Linked DNA regions of Homo sapiens: region 2 is linked to region 1. Evidence: promoter capture Hi-C in 16 types of primary human blood cells and fetal thymus (Javierre and others, 2016). All regions are on one chromosome and are shown on one strand. The core of a region is centred on a gene start or on the middle of the fragment in contact, and the rest is flanking DNA. Distances in the headings are between cores, read along the strand shown. Region 1 holds the start of NEGR1 (neuronal growth regulator 1). Region 2 overlaps LOC105378797 (a long non-coding RNA gene).

Evidence for each region. Contacts are between HindIII fragments. The CHiCAGO score rates a contact against its expected background, and 5 or more counts as called.
Region 2: a contact is called between a fragment that was not itself captured here and the fragment with the promoter of NEGR1 in region 1, in 1 of 17 cell types (monocytes). The highest score is 6.3, in monocytes.

What each region holds. Positions count from the first base shown.
Region 1 is chr1:72,280,872-72,284,262 of GRCh38, forward strand. It overlaps NEGR1 (neuronal growth regulator 1), which reads right to left and starts at 1,668. Exons shown (of 7, transcript NM_173808.3): 1 at 1,448-1,668. The coding sequence starts at 1,623. It overlaps LOC105378797 (a long non-coding RNA gene), which reads left to right and starts at 2,063. Exons shown (of 6, transcript XR_947506.3): 1 at 2,063-2,534. RefSeq lists silencers at 1,855-1,914, 2,015-2,104. The HindIII fragment of the contact is 3,164 bases long and covers 133-3,296 here.
Region 2 is chr1:72,634,523-72,637,913 of GRCh38, forward strand. All of the region lies in intron 3 of LOC105378797 (a long non-coding RNA gene), which reads left to right. Among named protein-coding and RNA genes, the nearest start is that of LINC02796, 130 kb to the right of the region's middle. The HindIII fragment of the contact is 2,449 bases long and covers 681-3,129 here.

The sequences.
Region 1 (3,391 bases), core at 418-2,917:
TTACAAGCCAACTACCACCCAGTGGAGAAAAAGAAGATCTTTCAGGGAAATGTGAGGTGGGGTGGCAGGGGGAGAAGGGAGGGTGATGGGAAAGAAATGAAGGAATAGGGCGTTTAGCTTTGTTTAGATCTAAGCTTTGCTGATCATCCATTTATATTTTCATAGGAAATAAAATATTCCCAGACTCCCACTCTGCAGTGTTGCTTAGGGGTAAAATCAGGGTATGGATGTTTATTAATGACAAACCACCTCAGAGCTCAAGCTCAGAGGAAAGAAGGGAAAATGAGAAAAATAAGTAAAAGTGAAGACTGATGGAGGGAGGAAGGTAGGAATAAAAAGGGGATAGAAAGACACAGAAAGAGAAAAAGAGAGAAGCAGAGACAGAGTGAGAGCAGCGAGTGAGACAGGCAGTGTGTACACATGTGTGAGTGACAATGTGGAACAGAGAAGGAGAGTATGCCTTTTAAAAACAGTGAGAGACAATCTGAATGTGGAAGTGGTTCTTACAGCATGGAAGTGCCAGTGCATGTGAGGATGTGAGAGTATGTGAGTTAGTATGTTTATGGAAATAAGATTTATGAGGGTGAGTAAATGGTACTGGAGGGGAACAGTGACCATGCCTGTGTGTGCCACAGGGGTGGGAAACGGTATGGGGAGAGGGATGAGAAATGGGAGTCAAAAGAGGGAAGACAGGGCACAGGATAGGGACATTAAGGAGGAATAAAAAAAATAGACAAAAAGAAAAAAGGGTAAAAGAGAGGAGGAAAGGGGATTAAATGTGAGGAACAGAAATTAGAGTCGTGGAGATAAAAATGAGAAAATATGAGAAGAAATTTTAAAAAGGAGGGAAAAAACAGAAAATAGAAAAGGTATGAAAAGAGATATTGGAGGGAAAAAGAGTTACAAGGAGGTGGGGAAAATGGTATAAGAGAATGAGGAAGGAGAAAAGAAAGAAAACAGAAAGCGGTAAAAGGAAAGAAAGATAAAGAGCAAGAAATCGAGCCTAAGTGTCCAAGTGAGAGGGAAAATAAATGGGAGCAGAGAACAGCAGTTTGAAAGAGTCGCTTATGCTGGAGTAAAATAGAAACAAACCTGATAAACTTGTCAGACTCTCCAGGAGTACCCCATGACAGTAAAACAGAGACCTTGTGCATTGAGTTTCAAAGTGGCACCTGCCCCTCCTTCTAAACCTGACAGTTCACTCATCCCCAGGCTACTTGGCGTTCCGGCAAAGTGCTTTAGCATCACGAGTCCAGCTTGCTACCTGCCCCAGCATAAACGGGCCGGGGCTCCGGGAAGAATCTGCACCTGGAATTCTTGGGATGTGGTCTTTCCATGATGAGCACCACCAGCATTATTGCTTGTGTTATAAAGAAGGCAAAGAGGGTTCAAAGAGAGACAGAAAGATAGACCGAAACAAGTACGAAAAGCACGCCGTTCTTCCTACCTAAGCACCGCCGTGTCCCCTTTTCTGACCATCATGTTGTCCACGGCCGCCCAGGGGAAGTCCACACTCTGTCCAGCCGGGAGGCAGGAGGGTAGCAGGCAGCACAGGCTGAGGAGCACCGCCGCCAGCCACTGGTTCGAGCAACAAGCACCCTGCACCAACAGCATCATGTCCATCCCTGCTAGGGCTGCTCACTCTCCAGCAGCTTTCAGCTCGCACTCCCCCACCCCCTGGTGCTGGCGAGTCTTCCCGGGAACCAGGCGGCGCGCCACAGGATTTTTTTTTTTTTTTTTTTTTTTTTTTTTTTTTGGTGGGTGGGTGGGTTTCTTTTCTTTCTTTCTTCCCCCCACCCCAGTTGTTGGGTGTTGTTTCTCTCTTTTTGTTTTTCGGTGTTTTTGCCTCCCCTCCTCCTCTTCGCTTTCCCTCCCTCCCTCCCCTCCCTCCCCCTGGCACCACACTACACCTCCTCTCGGTTGCTTTTGGCCGCGTCCGGAGTGTGTCTAATTCTCGGGCGGCTCGCACACCATCTAGCGAGGAGGCGAGCGCGCCGGCGAGTGAGGGAGGAGGCGCGGCGGCGGGGGAGGAGGCAGGGCGAGCGGCGGCGGCGGCGGCTGCAATCCCAGCAGCAGCAGCAGCAACAGCAACAGCAGCAGCAGAAGCAGCGCGGAGCGCTGCGCCGGCCGCCGGCTCCCGGGCTCGCGCGCGTTGCCAAGCGGCCGTTTCCTTAGCAACCCCGCCAGGGGACTGGGGATGGAGAAGGGAGGGGGATTAAAAAAATAATAAAAAAAGAAAGAAAAAAGATAGCAAGAAAAAAAAAAGAAAAGCAAGACAACGAAAAAAAAAATAGGAGGAACTGTATCACAATTATGCAAACTAAGGGGGAAAGAGAGGCACCTTAGAATGAAGGCTCTCCTTACTGTCGTAAGCGCTAGAGGGATTCTTTGCTAGAAAAGTCTCCGTGTCAGGGCTGGGGTGAAGAGAGCTGAGGGGCGCTTTGCCTTCCCTCACCGGTGCGTTTTACCTCTCGAGGCACCGTAAGTTTGAAGTCCTCCAAGTTGTGGTCGGCGCCATCATGACGCCGGCGACTGTGAGTTGTTTTTTTGTTTATTTTCTTCTAATCTTGCCTGGGTGGCTACGCTGCAGTTAGCGAGCAGCCAACTAGTTCTCTCTGCGTTTTCTCGGGAATAGGTAGGGACGGTGGCGGGGCGCTGCTTTTTTGCGGGGACACGAGGAGGTGCAAGGCCTTGCGGCAGAGCAGCTTGCGTGTTTGTGGCGGTCGGCCCGTATGGATTGCAGGACGCCCCTCTTTTATCTGTGGGTGTTGACACTAAGTTGTGTGTGTGAGTAGGGGATTGTTTATGGTCAACATGGAGTGTGTGTGTGATAGAGAGCGTGTCGTGCGCGCGGGGGCCTGTGCACGCGCGGCACGCAGGCGCGCTGGGAGGGACGGGGCGGGTCATGCTGGGATGTAGAGTCGGGAAAAGACTGCAATCAAGTGTTTTAATTGTGTAGAGCCCAGGCGGTCCAGTTATGTAAGAGGCAGTTTAACCCATTTGAGCCTATCAGGCCGAATAATCGGCGCATCCGAGTCAAGGCAGGGCAGAGTTAAGGGGTTTAACGAGTCGCAGGGTTGTATTTCTTAACAGCCTCCACACCGCGTTAACAGGCTTGCTCCTCCGCGGTGCAGAGCGGTAACCTCCGCTTCCCCACGCAGCAGCCCCTCCGCAGCTCGCCGGGCTGTTTTCAGCCCTGCCCTGGCCCAAGGCAGAAGGAGATACTAGGCGTGGGGCCACCCCTACTCTTTTTTCTTCTTTCCTTCTTGAACTCATTTCCAGATTCAAGATCCTTAAGCTTTTCCGGGCCATTTGCAAATCAATGCGAGAACCGAGGCTGAGTCGTTAGCAGTTACACCAATCAATCTTGTTCAGCGAGGAGTTTGGGAAG
Region 2 (3,391 bases), core at 655-3,154, 350 kb after region 1:
CTGCTTTTATGTGATTCTTCTATTTTAACTACCACCTATTCTACTGGAGATCTCTAAAATGAGTACTAAAAGAAAGGAACATAATCTAGAATACAAGTCGTTTACTCACTACTGGGCATTTCTTTGCATGCTTTTAGTCACTGTTACTTTTAACTTGCTCAACTCAGCTTTGGAAATAGAGTAAGGTAAACATGATATCCCTTTTCCAGGAACTTGAACAGCTAAATAGTCAAATGGACAGCAGCTGGACCATATATTAAACTAGAATTCTGACTCACACCTTCAGCAACCAGCTCAAGAAGCCAAATCACCTCTTCTGTAGTCTTCAGCCTCAAACAGTCAGTATTTGATCAGATCAATAGCTGACAGCTTTCTCAATTTTTGTTGCTACTTCCACCTTAGGACTAACCAGAGAAAACCAAATAGATCTCATTTAACCAATGACATAGAACGCTCTACTTTTAGTTAATCCATTTCCAGCCTCCCTATGCCAACATCCCCAGTCAAAGCATACCTGAATCCTTCCTTTTTTTTTCCTACTGTAAAGCTTTCCCACTCCTCTGCCTGGCATTGAGTCTGTGCCAAATGTAAGTAATGCTGGCTTACTTCCTTGCCGTAGCAAGTAGTGAATAAATAGCATTTGCTCATTCTCTTTTGGGTAGTCTCAGTTTATTTCCACAAGCTTACAGCACAGCAGGAATTACAGTCCTAAACAGGGCAATTACATGTGTGATACATCATGGAAAAGAGAAACTGTGCCTGTAGATGAGAACACAGCCTAGGGTTTAGGTGAAGAGAAAAGGCATCGAATACAAGAGTATAAATGTTAAAGCCATAAAAATGTTATATTTTATTAACATATTCAGTTAAGAAAAGGCCCCCCATTTAAATTTCATAGAGCTTCCTTTCTATTATTTACTTGTTTGTTTTGGCAAGAATTTATGACATCTTTATGTACTATGAAAACTGGCATTGTTTCTAACCTTCTCATACATACTAGAAAAAAGAAGTTGGGGCATATTTTATCCATTAATTGCTATTATTTTATTTTACTTCATCCCACACTTAGATTATGGAAAGAAGGAAAAAATAATAATAGCTGTGGCATACCAGTCTAGTGCCAGACACAGGGATAAGGTTGACACCACGCTGAAGAAATAATGTTATCTCCATTTTATCAATGAAGAAACTGAGACACAAAGAACTGAAATAACTTGTCCAGGGTCACACAACTAGCAAAGTGTTTAATCCAAATCTAAACATATGTCTCTCTAACTGTACATCAAGGTTTCCCAACCTCCTCTGTCCTATTGACATTTTGGGCTGTGTAATTCTTTGTTGTGCTATCCTCTGCATTGTAGGATGTTTAGCAATATCCTTGGCCTGTGTCCACTAACTGCCAGTTGCACTCTGCGGTCATGACAATCAAAATGTCTCCAGACATTGCCAAATGTCTCTGGAGAGAGAAAAAATGCCCCTGGTTGAGAATCTCTGCTGTAGATCAAATATTCTACTTGTTAGTTTTTCATTAGCTAGCCTAATCTTTCATAATTTATCGTTTCCATAATATATTGTCAGCAACTTGCAGCGCACGCGCGCGCGCGCGCGCGCGCACACACACACACACACACACACACATACACACACACACCACCTCCCTCATTTCCCTAACCTACTGTTAAACTCCCTAACGAAGTTAGAAGTGATTTATTTTCAGCACGGGATTCTCTTTTATTTTTGCAATTGTGGTTTTGGTGGTTGACATATTTAACAAAAAAACCCTGAAGGAAATTCTGACAAAAGAACTGATTGTTGTCCTCCCAGTTGTTTGAGAAGGAACCTAAATATATGACCAGCTTCCTAATGATCATTTCGTTGTTCTTAGACCTTTAAATTAGTCCAGCAGCCTTGCTTTCTGTCGCTATGCCACAGGGTTCTCACCCTCCCTCCCTTCTTTGTTTTTACTTCTCTCTCTCTTCCTCCTTTGTTCTCTTTACTTTCCCTCCTTTCTTCCTCTATCCATCTTCTCTATTTTCCTGTTGTCTTTCATCTCTTCATCCCATTTCTCCCGCATCCTTTAGAACTCATAATACTAAAATATACATATTTTAAGATCTTCCTCTCTGTATCTTTCTGTCTCTGTCTCAATGTCTCTCTGTTTCTGTCTTTGTCTTTCTCTGTTTGTCTCTCTCTCTCTCTGTCTCTCTCTCCTGCCTTTCTCTCTCTCTTTTGCCTTTGTAGCTCCCTGCCAGTACAGCTGTCCCATACAGCCTTTGATGCTACTCTGTTATCTTTGGCACCAGCTCACAGGCTCCGCAGGGCTGAAGCTGGAACTCTTCCATCTCATCTCCTTTCTTTTGTCCTGCAATATGGTTATCCTGGAGGCCACTCAGCTGCCTCCCAACATTAGAGTTAGGTGACAAGAACAGGGAATAGACTCTCTGAAGCTAGAGGTAAGCGGCTGAACATCTTATAATAGTGAACACCTTTGTTGTTGCTAAAACTCTTTTCTAAACACATGCATGGGGTATTTTGAAATGAATTTTGGCATCTCTCATTTTTCCCTCAGCAAGCTGTGGTATCTGGCAGTGTTTTTCAAGAAAGTACTTACCTTTGATAATCAGACTGAGTTGAAATTATCCTGATTTCATTGTACTACAGACTTGAAGCAACATATTTTCCAAATTCCATGGGGTGAGCCAAATATTTTCAACTGCACAATAATGTTGAGCTGAATAAAAGGTTATGAAAAACCTGAAATAATGCATTTCTTTGGAATAATTCAACACTGCTTTAAGCCTACTTTCTTCTTTTAAGAACTCATTTCCTATTTAGAGCTAAATGAAAGTATATATTATCTCTGAACCTTGGACAAATTCTTTGGGGAAAAAAAAAAAGAATTGACTCTGATTTTAGGGTAGACAGTGCAGATCAAAGACCATGGATTCATTTTGGCCGATAACATCCTAACACTGATTCAGAATTGGTTAAGATGATTTGGAGGCATAGAAGTGTTAAAATTATATACTGCTTCAGTTCTACATTATAGTAAGAAGTTCCTGTGGAGAAAAATCTAATTTTAAGCATACCATGATTTTCCTGCATAAACATGAGGAGTTAGGAGCTCAAAGCTTTTCTTTAGAACACTGCTTGTACAAAAGATCTTTATCTGGTTCATTCTTGTTTGGTGTTATTCTGTGCGGAAAACCATGTGCTACACTTAGTCCATTTGCTTATCCCACTATGCAGCCACCTGCAGACTGATTATTTCCTTTTAAAGCAGGAGTAAAATCTCCACTTCCCTCCCTCCTGTAGGCAGCCTCAGCATAAAAGCCACTCATACAATGATGTTTTGTGAGAACAGATCCCATTAACAACAACAACAACTTAG